Linked DNA regions of Homo sapiens: region 1 is linked to region 2. The links are contacts of gene promoters, found by promoter capture Hi-C in blood cells and fetal thymus (Javierre and others, 2016). All regions are on one chromosome and are shown on one strand. Each heading gives the region's core, a stretch centred on a gene start or on the middle of the fragment in contact. The rest is flanking DNA. Distances are from core to core; before and after follow the strand shown.

Region 1 (6,153 bases), core at 1,319-3,818, 240 kb after region 2:
GGGGCTGCCATAACAAAATTTCACAACTTGAGTGGCTTAAACAACAGAAATTTATTTTCCTGAAGTTCTGGAGACTGGAAGTCAAGATCAAGTTGTCAGCAGGTTTGGTTTCTTCTGAGGCCCCTCTCCTTGCTTTGTAGATGGCTGCTTTCTTTCTTTTTCTTTTTTTTTTTTTTTTTTTTTTTTTTGAGACAAAGTCTCACTTCCACGCCCAGGCTGGAGTGCAGTGGCATAATCTCAGCTCACTGCAGCCTCGACTTCCTGGGCTCAAGTGATCCTCCCACCTCTGCTTCTGGGGTAGCTGGGACCACAGACATGCACCACCATGCCCAACTAATTTTTTGTACTTTTTGTAGAGACAGGGTTTCACCATGTTGCCCAGGCTGGTCTTGAACTCCTGGGCTCAAGTGATCGACCCGCCTCAGCCTCCCAAAGTGCTGAGATTCCAGGTGTAAGCTTTCACGCCTTGCTAAGATGACTGCTTTCTTACTGTTTCCTCATATGGCCCTTTCTCTGTGTGTGCATCCCTAGTGTCTCTCTGTGTGTCCTAATCTCCTCTTCTTATGAGGACATCAGTCGGATTGAATTAGGGCCCCCTAACCATCTCATTTAACTTAGTCATCTCTTTAAAGGTCCTATCTCCAAATACAGTCACTTTCTGAGGTACTGAGGGTTAGGACTTCAAAATATGATATGTCAGTGGGGATATAATTCTGCCCATAACAGTGTGTAAAGCAAGTCTGGCTTGATCTGTCCTTTCCTTTGAAAGTCCCCAGCATGACCAGAGCCTCAGAGATGATAGACTTGGGCTGCCCAAAGTACACAAGAGCCAAATGCCAAATGCTAATCCAGTCATCAACAGAGAGACATCACTGTCATAGGATTGACATATTTGAAAGATACATGCCCTCATTTCTCTCTGTTGACTTACCTAGGAGGCTAGATCCTCCTCAGGTCACCAAGTAAACCTGGCATGTTTACCCCTTCTCAATGACACTGTATTTCTCTAGATACCTTAATGCAATCCATAGTGTCAGCATATTACCAACCTGGGAAACCTTTAGTCTCCTTCATCCACTTCTTAAAAGCAATCCTATGTCTCTCATTTTCTCAGGTTGGGGTGCATATCCTGGTAACCCCCAAACAATGTGATATAACCATACACCACTCACCTGATCTTATTTTTATTTATTTATTTTTTGTGTGTGTGAGGTGGAGTCTCGCTCTGTTGCCCAAGCTGGAGTGCATTGGCGCAATCTCAGCTCACTGCAACCTCCACCTCCCAGGTTCAAGTGATTCTCCTGCCTCAGCCTCCCTAGTAGCTGGGATTACATGCACATGCCACCATGCCAGGCTAATTTTTGTATTTTTGTTAGAGATGGGGTTTCGTCACGTTGGCCAGGCTGGTCTTGAACTCCTGACCTCAAGCGATCTGCCCACCTCTGCCTCCCAAAGTGCTGGGATTACAGGCGTGAGCCACCTCGCCTGGTCTCCATAATCTTATTTAATCTTATTTATGTTGTGAGACAACAACACTATGCAATAGATACTATTATCCCCATTTTACAAGTGAGGAAAGTGAGGCTCAGGGATATTAAGGAACTTATTTAATGTTACACATTTGGTAGTAGGAGGTCAGAATTTAAGCCAGCTCCAAAGCCTGTGGTTTTAGGTCCTGCACTATACACACCACCTCTTTGGCCTTTTCCTCAGGCAAGCTCCAAACCTGCTTTGCAAGCTATTATGTACAGACTTGTGACTGACTTGTTTTCCTGCTCCTGCACGTGGTTCATATGTCATGTGTCAACCTCATCATTATGATCACTATCATCTTCGTCATTATTAACATTTGCTGAAAGCTGTCACGTTGCTAGGCAATTTAAGTTTAATTCCTCATGTGCAGCTTCTATCTGCATGCTTTTCCTTTAAATAATCACACTGCTAGGAATACAGTACTTCTTTTTGAAAGTATGACACCACAAGCAACTGTTAAGGTATTTGTTTTAGTGCTGGAAGCTGGAGAGAACAACCATTTTGCTCAGTTATTCACCATGCACAATTGGTCCTCTGGTTTCACCCTTCATGCTTGATGCCTTCAAAGATCAAGATAAATCCTTTTAGCCAAAATAAAAATAAATCCAAAGGAACTTAATCTGTGGGCCTATTACTGCTCAGTGTTGAATGACTGTGCTTTTATTCTAGTCAGATTTCTTTTTAAATTTTAAAATGTGGCTGGGCGCAATGGCTCACTCTTGTAGTCCCAGCACTTTGGGAGGCTGAGACGGGCAGATCACCTGAGGTCAGGAGTTTGAGACCAGCCTGGCCAACATAGTGAAACCCTGTCTCTACTAAAAATACAAAAATTAGCCATGCGTGGTGGTGCATGCCTGTAATCCCAGCTACTCAGGAGGCCGAGGCCAAAGAACTGCTTGAACCCAGGAGGCGGAGGTTGCAGTGAGCCAAGATCGTGCCACTGCACTCCAGCCTGGGCGACAAAGCAAGACTCTATCTCAAAAAAAATAAATAAATAAATAAATAAAATAAATTAATTAATTAAATTAAATTTTAGAATGCTAAGATTTGTTATTGGAATTTACAGTTTTGCTGCCTAATCTTCAGATCATGGATTTTTATATCAGTCAGTAAATGAATGTAAAGGAAGACAGATTGTTTTGTATTTGAAGTTTGGTTAATATACTTACCAGTTTTGGTCACTTTGGGAATGTTACTTAACTTCAGAGTCTCAGTTAATCTCCCTATTACAATGGGTTACTCAACTTTTTGTTTGTTTGTTTTTTGGGGTTTTTTTTTTTTTTTTTTTTTTTTTTGAGATGGAGTCTTACTCTGTCGCCCAGGCTGGAGTGCAGTGGTGAGATCTCAGCTCAGTGAAACCTCTGCCCCCCAGGTTCAAGTGATTCTCCTGCCTTAGCCTCCTGAGTAGCTGGGATTACAGGTGGGCACCATCACAGCTGGCTAATTTTTGTATTTTTAGTAGAGACAGGGCTTCACCATGTTGGCTGGGCTGGTCTCAAACTCTTGACTTCAGGTTATCCACCCACCTTGGCCTCCCAAAGTGTTGGGATTACAGGCGTGAGCCACTGCGCCTGGCCAATGGGTTAATCAACTCTTAAAAGACTTTTTATTTTTTAGAGATAAATACTGAATAAAATGATATGATGGCCAGGAGTTGCTTCAAGTCATCCAAGTATAGGGGAAAGTGGGTGGGTATACAGTTGAAACAAGACAATATACTGATCATGATCATAGCTCAAGTTGGGTGAGGGGTACACAGAGATTCTTATACTATTCTCCCTATTTTTCTATATGTTTGAAATTTTTCTATTTTTTCTTTTCTGTAAGAGATGGAGTCTTGCTCTGTGTCCCAGGCTGGAGTACAATGGCGCGATCTCAGCTCACTGTAACCTCCGCCTCTGGCGTTCAAGCGATTATCCTGCCTCAGCCTCCTAAGTAGCTGAGACTACAGGCATGTGCCACCACGCCTGGCTAATTTTTTGTATTTTTAGTAGAGACGGGGTTTCACCGTGTTAGCCAGGATGGTCTCAATCTCCTGACCTTGTGATCTGCCCGCCTCGGCCTCCCAAAGTGCTGAGATTACAGGTGTGAGCCACTGCGCCCGGCTGCGCTTTCTCTAAATTAGCAGAGACAAATTTGGAGTCAGGCTGACTGAAGCTCTTACTTTTCAACTGAGTAACTTGTTTGGTCTGCTCTATAACTAATGTGTCAACAATGCATGGAGTACTAGTTCAGGATTAAGAACTGACTCTCTTGGAGGAGGAGGGAGGAAAGTTCTGATTTGTAACATTTGCAGGGGTAAATACTTCCACCATTGCCAATCTTGCCATGTCACTGAGTACAGAATTGGGAGATGTACAGTTACTGCATACCATTACCTAGGATTTCTACTATACAGATGCAGTAGATATAAGTAACCTCAAAACATAGATCACAGTGAAATGTAGCAAAAATAATTAAGAAGTGACGAGTTTTGATAATGTTTTTGCCTTTGTTCTTAAATTTTTTTTTTTTTAAGACAAGGTCTGGCTCTGTCTCCCAGGCTGGAGTGCAGTGGCACGATCTCAGCTCACTGTAACCTCTGGGGCCCAGGCTCAAGCAATCCTCCTACCTCAGCCTCCTCAGTAGCTGGGACTACAGGCATGCACCACTATGCCTGACTACTTTTTGTATTTTTTGTACAGATGGGGTTTTGCCATGTTGCCCAGGCTAGCCTTGAACTCCTGGGCTGAAGCAATCTGCCTGCCTCAGCCTCCCAAAGTTCCAGGATAGCAGGCGTGAGCCACTGTGCCTGGCCACATAAGTTAATTCTTTTTTTAATTTTAATTTTAATTTATTTATTTTTGAGATAGGGTCTTGCCCGGTTGCCCAGACTGGAAAGGAGTGGTGCCATCATAGCTCACTGAAGCCTTGAACTCCTGGGTTCAAGAAATCCTCTTGTCTCAGCTTCCCGAGTAGCTGGGACTACAGGTGCACACCACCTTGCCCAGCTAATTTTATTTTAATTTATTTTTATAGTAGAGACAGGGTCTTGCTATGTTGCCCAGGTTGGTGTTGAACTCCTGGGCTCAAGTAACCCTCCTGGCTCGGCCTCCCAAAATGCTGGGAATCTAGCCATGAGCCACCATACTCAGCCGAGAAGCTTACTGTTAAAGAGATCCACTGTTCACTTTGTTGAGGGCAACCAAGAGGGAAAGTTTTTTACACAAGGAGGATTCCAGCCCTTTGTTAGAGCCAGCAATACAGCCTGAGAGGTGAAGGGTTTAATATCCAAGGAAATGACTGAATCAGGATTCGATCAAGAACATCTTAGCACATCCTCAAGGTTCTATAGGTATTGAAAGTTCCACAATGTGCTGTGTGATAATGTGCTATTGAGAGAGAGAATAAAGACATGCCCAGAGCATAGGCTGTTTTCTTTGTGGTATGTCAGAGGACAGAGCACTTCTTACATAAGAGGGCTAATAAGCATATTTTGGATCCTACTTATAGCATTTCTGAGCCATTCTGTCCTGGGCATCTTCTAAGATTTTACAGCTTGGAGAAACAGAGACAGTTCACTTAAGAGGTTTATCTTTCTGTCATGAACTATACATATTAAATCTGGATGGGTAGCAATTTAATCATTTCCCGTCAAAGATGGCTGCATTCAAATGAAGCCTCTAAAGAGTATAAAATATATCATGATCATTTAAGAGTTTAAGAGTTTCAGTCTCTGAGTATGCATCCTTGAAGTAGCATTATATTTCAGCCTTAAAAATGTTCATATCCTTTGACTTTGTAAAATTCTATATAAAGGAAAGAATCCCAAATATGTAAAAAGTTTTATGACGGCCAGATGCAGTGGCTCATGCCTGTAATCCCAGCACTTTGGGAGGCCAAGGTGGGTGGATAATTTAAGGTCAGGAGTTCAAGACCAGCCTGGTCAACATGATGAAACCCCATCTCTACTAAAGATACAAAAATTAGCTGGGCATGGTGGCAGGTGCCTGCAATCCCAGCTACTCGGGAGGTTGAGGCACAAGAATCGCTTGAACCTGGGAGGCAGAGGTTGCAGTGAGCCAAGATCAAGCCACTGCACTCCAGCCTGAGCGACAGAGTGAGACTACTCTGTCTCAAAAAAAAAAAAAAAAAAAAAAGAGTTGGCCGGGCGCAGTGGCTCACGCCTGTAATCCCAGCACCTTGGGAGGCCGAGGTGGGCAGATCACAAGGTCAGGAGTTCGAGAACAGCCTGGCCAACACAGTGAAACCCAGTCTGTACTAAAAATACAAAAAATTAGTTGGGCGTGGTGGCAGGGCGTGGAGGCAGGGGAATCTCTTGAACCTGGGAGGCGGAGGTTGCAGCGAGCTGAGATTGCACCAGTGCACACCAGCTGGGGTGACAGTGCGAGACTCCGTCTCAAAAAAAATAAAAAATAAAAATTAAAAACAATGTTTTATGACAAAGTATTTACCAAAACATTATTTGTAACAGTGTAAAAGTGGTAAAAACCTAAAGGTACAATAATAGAAGATATATTAATTATGGTATTTCAACCAGATGGGCCATTATGCAGGCATTTAAAAGGATGTTTCTGAATAATTTATAAACCCCCAGAAAAACACTTAATAATATAACAT
Region 2 (5,708 bases), core at 67-2,566:
CTGCTTTCCCAAGGCTTTTCACCCAACCCCATCTGCCCTCTGCCTCAGGGCCTGGGCAGAGCCTCGGCCTTGCTGACAGCGTGCTGGAGAGGCTCACCAGGCTCAGCAGCCTCAGGGCAGGCTCAGTGAAGCTTGTAGGCAAAGGGGCTGAAGGGGTCTTTCTTTTGTGTTCCCCTGACTGTTCCTAAGAACATGTGCATTTATGCTTCATACCCTAACTAGGAAAGTTCTCCTTAAATCTAACCCCCAAATCCCATCTTCTGTTCTTTCTACATACAATATAAACTTCTTTGGGCCACAGTCTTGTGAGAATCTCTCCAAAACGTATAGGAAGACATAATGTTGTCTTTACAATTGCACGGTGTCCTCCAACTGTTAAGCCTGTCCCAGGTGAGGTTAAGAATTTCAGTCCCTCTCCACTGCCTCACATCCATCTGGCCAGATGCGTTTCTTAAACTCCTCTTTATCAGCCTGGGGCTGTCACCCATTCTACCCATTGGTCTGCCAGTCGCTGTAAGGTTGTCATGTACCAGAGGCATGAGTACAAATGATGGGGGTGGGGACGGGGGACCTGAGGAGCTGGGTTCAAGCTATGCTTCCCTGCTTGCTGGCACTGAGACCTTGGGGGAAGTCATGTTACTGGCCTCCCTTCAGCTCCCTCGCAGCTTGGGTTTCCCCATCAGAAAATTGGAAGCGATTAGAACCTGTACTTAGCAAGAGTTCTGGGACATCCCTTGTGTGAAAGTGCCAGATACGCTGTAAAGCAGTACCTAGGAGTGCCCCACCTGGGACCACTTTTGAAAATGTCCAAGCCCCACCCCACCACCACCACCACCACAAGGTAACGTTCTGCCCCACTTTTCTCATCCATGTTGGGTGGAGACTTGCGCCATCCCTCGGCTCTCTACATCCATCCGCACCACGCCCAGGTGAACTCACACTCGGGACCCTGAACCCGCCCACTCCAGGCCTTGCGGGCCCTTCTCTCCTCTTCTGCACGCCCCACCCTCCTTTCCCACCCAGACTCCAGTGTGCCCACACCCCACTCCCCATCTTAGCCTGCCTTTCCCCTCTCCCCCAGCGCACGCGTGCATCAGGGCACTCACGAAGCCACCCCGGCAACATCTGGGAGCACGCGCCTCCACATCTGGAAGGTGGGCGCAAGCGTAGCAGGGCCGGTCGGGTTCCTCGCCGCCCCCCGGCCCCGCAGGTGGTGGAGCAGGGCGGGGTGAGGGAGGGGGAGGCCAGCGGGGCTGGGCGGGGCCCGGGGGGCGGGGGCCTGACGGCCGGGCCGGGCGGCGGAGCTGCAAGGGACAGAGGCGCGGCAGGCGCGCGGAGCCAGCGGAGCCAGCTGAGCCCGAGCCCAGCCCGCGCCCGCGCCGCCATGCCCCTGGCCTTCTGCGGCAGCGAGAACCACTCGGCCGCCTACCGGGTGGACCAGGGGGTCCTCAACAACGGCTGCTTTGTGGACGCGCTCAACGTGGTGCCGCACGTCTTCCTACTCTTCATCACCTTCCCCATCCTCTTCATTGGTGAGTGCGCGCAGCGAGCCGCGGAGGAGGGGACGGGAGAGCAGGGAGGGAGGAGGAGGCGCTGCGCGCCGCACCGCTCGGCGTCCCCTTCCGGCCCGCGACCGCCGTCCGCCTCGTTCCCGGGGTCCCCTGCCCTGTGTCCTGCCCGCCGGTCCCCGCACTCGCACACCAGCTCATCCCTTCACTCCCCCGGTGCCCCCGATCCCGCGCCAAACACAGCGGACGTTTGTGACCCATGGGATCACCAAGTTTTGCTTCTGCAGGGCCAAGAGCTGGGATGGGGAAAAGGGAAAGAGGAGGTCTCAGCACGCAGTGGGAAACTGGAGAGGGGTCGGGCCTCACCCTCCGTGGCGCAGCTTAGGGAGCCGGGTCACCCCTCCCGCAAGGCAGCCTCCCTGTCAGCCGCAGCTGGGCCTAGGGAAGAGGGAAGCCTGTGCTTTGGAGTCTGGGATGGAGGCCCAGCTAACCCCTATGCTTTCACCGGGCTGAGCCGCGCAGTGGTCCGTGATCTCTGACAGTCCCAGGCCCGCGCCCTGGGCGAGGAGAGGCGAGAGCTAGGGACTTGGATTCCCTTCCCCCGCCACCCCACCCGGGCATGTGTCTCCAGAGCGCAACTTCTCAGGCTCTGCGCAAAGTAGCTCCGACTCGCCGACGCAGCGACCCCGGCGCCCTTGCTTGCAAAGTTGGGCGCCACGGCCGGGACAATCGTGCGTGCCTCTCCACTGAGGTCCCCCCCATCTCTCTCCAAGACCTTGACTCTTCCAGACCAGTCAAGTCTATCAACTCATAGGGTGTCCCCTGCATCCCCAAAACGTGTTCATTCACTTTAAGAAAACAAGCAAATCTTAAAATTCATATACAGCTTTGGGGAAGAAAGGAAAGATTGTCACAAAATTAGATTTACAAGAGGTTGCTGCAGAAGCAGAGTTGCTAGTTATTAACAAAGACAGTTAGATAGAAATAGAAATAAAACATACAAAATATGTGCTCATATGTGCATCAAAAATCAAAAAAGAACAGCATTTACACTTCTGTTCTCAGCCAAACGGTTTATTAACCTGATGACTTGTCACACAAGAAGTTAGTATGTATAATGGGGTACCTTGGCAGGGCACAGTGGCTTACATCTGTAATCTCAGCATTTTGGTGGGCTGTGACAGGAAGACTGCTTGAGTCCAGGAGTTCGAGACCAGCCTGGGCAACATAGTGAGACCCCCCCCGCCCTTTCTACAAAAAATTAAAAATTAGCTGAGCATGGTGATGTGCGCCTGTAGTCCCAGCTACTCAGGAGGCTGAGGCGGGAGGATCACTTGAGCCTAGGAGATCAAGGCTGTAGTGAGCCGTGATCGTGGCACTGCACTCCAGCAGAGGCAACAGAGCAAGACCCTGTCTCAGTAAAAAGGTGTGGTGGGGGAGGTACCAGCATAGGACCAGGCTGAATGAGTTGGACGTTTAGTTTGTGTGTACCAGCCTTGGGGATCCTCATGTGTAGGTGTCACCCTCACCATGGACCCAATGCCCAAGCACCTTTCTGGGGTTCATGCACCCTCTTCCTCCTCCAAGTGGGCAGGCATCCTGCCTCTGACTGTCTCTCCCTGCAGGATGGGGAAGTCAGAGCTCCAAGGTGCACATCCACCACAGCACATGGCTTCATTTCCCTGGGCACAACCTGCGGTGGATCCTGACCTTCATGCTGCTCTTCGTCCTGGTGTGTGAGATTGCAGAGGGCATCCTGTCTGATGGGTGAGTGACTGTCTGAGGACTCAGGAAAGTGAATCTGCTCCAGGGTACTTCCTGAAAGGCCCAAGGAGATCCTAGCTCACCTATATTCCACAAGCCCATGTCTTTTGTTACTACATCCAGCAGCTCAGTGTCTTCTATGTGCCAACCTCTCTGAGCTGGGCACTGGACGCAAGTGAGTCCCAGGCCCTGCCATCAGTCCAGGAGAGCAGAGGGAACACGGACCTGCATGCCAAGTCCCAGTGAAATAATGCTAGAGCCTATTAGAATGCCACAACTCCAGTGAAAAATGTCTGGCCTCTTCTACAACCTGCCGGAGTTACCTTCTTGGAAAAAAAAAAAAATCTAACCATGCCACCCACTCTTGCATAAGACCTTTCCTTGGTTCTCAGCTGTTTTGAAGATGTGGTCTCAGATCCTCAGCCCACCATTCAAGGTCTTCACAGTCAGCCCCACCTATCTCTGGCCTCATTCCCCATGCCCACCTTCCGTTTGGGCCTCACAGCACACTCCTCACACCTCTGCTACAGCACAGATCACACTGTATGTTAAAGTTTATGTCTATTTGCAAAACTGTCTTCAGAGTCAGAAAGGCCTAAGAGTTAGAATCTGAGTCTTGTTCATCTTTGTGTTCACAGTGCAAGGCATGTGATAAACATAAACATTATTCAGTCCATAAACATTTATTGGGTCCTTAGGAGAATGAATGAAACCATGTTACAAATAAGTACTCTGGGAGGTGAGAGGAAGGCAGAATTGGGCAAGCTCCATGGTTGAGAGGGCTTTGGAGCGGAGTCTGGAAGGGTGACTAGGCTTCAGACACACAGAGGAGGAAGGAGAGAGAGAACTGGTGGTGCCTGAGGGAAGGGAAAAGGCACCAAAGAGAAAAGCAGGTAGGGCTAGGGAGCAGCGCAGGGGCTGGAGCATTAAACACAGGCTGGGGAGCGATGGAGGCTGAGGCTGGGAACCCAGGTTGGGGCATCTCAGGAGGACTGTGAATCCCAGCCTGCATGTTTGGGTCGGATTTGGTCAGCAGTTTGGAACAGAAGAGAGATGTCATCAGCATAACACTTTTAGGTGGGAACCTGAGGTGTTCAGCGCAGGCTGGAGGCAGGGAGAATCTAGAGGTATAATAGAAGCAGGACTTAGCATTGACTGCAGTAGTCTAGGTGAGCAATAACTGCAGACAGAAATGGTGTGTCAGCAGTCAGGGACAGAAGAGGAGCGGGAGCAGCCATCTCACTAAGGAAGAATCCAGTAACCAGCAAGGATGAGAGACTGCCAGGAGAGGGAGTGGTGGAGGAGAGGGATATTTGGCTTGAGTATCTGAGGTCCAGCGCCCCCTGAGCTGGAATCAGATTATACCCAGACTGCACTCCTGCAGTGCTGCCTGGCTCCTGTAGTTGGATGGCAGGGGATAGGCTCCCTCATCCTCCCTCCCGTTCCCCACCTTCCCTTCCCCAATGTCCCTGCATCCTGGCTTCAGCAGTGATCTCTAAAATACCTGCTTGACTTGGAGGCAGCAGCTCTGCCTGCTTATTAAAGTCCCTAGACCAGCAAGAAGACCAGAAGGCATACTGCTACACAAGCACGTGACAAGTCCGCCTCCACCCCCACCCCTACACCCCTTCCAAAGTAGCACAAATGCCACAGTGAGCCCTCAGATGGGAAATACTCACCAGATGGTGACAGAGAAAGACACCTCCGCCCTTGGAGAAGGAAGACCTGGGTCTTCAGTGAGCACTGCTGCTGTGTACCAGCTATGGGACTTTGCACAAGTCATTCAGGCTTTCTGGGCCTCATAAGCATTTATAAACATACGATAAAACATTTTAGTTGCCAACTTAAAAATGTGTGAGAAAGTATAAGGTGTTTCAAAATTATTTCAAGGAGTAAAGAGGCAAGAGTTTTGAAGATCCCTGGGCAGGGTGTTGGCTGTTCCCAGTGTGGCCATTCATGACTGCTCTCTGGCCTTATGAAACAAGCATCATAGTCCCTGGCTTGCCTGCTTCATGGGGCTGTGGAGGGTGAAATTCGAGCATGGACAGGGTGCAGAGCCCGGAGTGGCAGAGCACTGGGTAGACTGTGTATTCCCAGAATGTGGGAAACTGGAATGAATCGGTCCAGGGATGCCCTCCTGCTGGCTGTCAGCAGCCCCTCCTGTGTGTGGCTGTACTGCTTCAGCTCAGTGCAAAGGGCCATCTCCTCCCCAGGGCACAGATCAGCTCAAGCTGAGTAATTGTCATCTGGTCTTTGTGAGCTCCTACCCCCAGGCCTGAGTGAGGGGCAGGAAAAGAGCAGACAGGAGAAGTCACAGACCCTTGTGATACCTCCAGTCTAATCCAGCCTGGGTTTTCAGAGCTGTCTGGAAATTTAGGGGGCAGGTGGGAGGGGGCTGATTAAGGCAGCCCTGATTTGATTTAGAGTGAGCCTCAT

Evidence for each region. The method cuts DNA at HindIII sites, captures the fragments that hold promoters and counts their contacts. A CHiCAGO score of 5 or more calls a contact.
Region 1: a fragment that was not itself captured here is called in contact with the fragment with the promoter of ABCC8 in region 2 in 1 of 17 cell types (M1 macrophages); the score reaches 5.9 in M1 macrophages.

The regions. Positions count from the first base shown.
Region 1 is chr11:17,234,230-17,240,382 of GRCh38, reverse strand. No RefSeq gene overlaps it. Among named protein-coding and RNA genes, the nearest start is that of PIK3C2A, 29 kb to the right of the region's middle. The HindIII fragment of the contact is 4,219 bases long and covers 459-4,677 here.
Region 2 is chr11:17,472,453-17,478,160 of GRCh38, reverse strand. ABCC8 (ATP binding cassette subfamily C member 8) reads left to right here and starts at 1,316. Exons shown (of 39, transcript NM_000352.6): 1 at 1,316-1,532; 2 at 3,134-3,275. The coding sequence starts at 1,385. LOC124902641 (a long non-coding RNA gene) reads right to left here and starts at 1,510. Exons shown (of 2, transcript XR_007062609.1): 1 at 1,430-1,510. RefSeq lists an enhancer at 2,104-2,660. The HindIII fragment of the contact is 8,626 bases long and covers 134-5,708 here.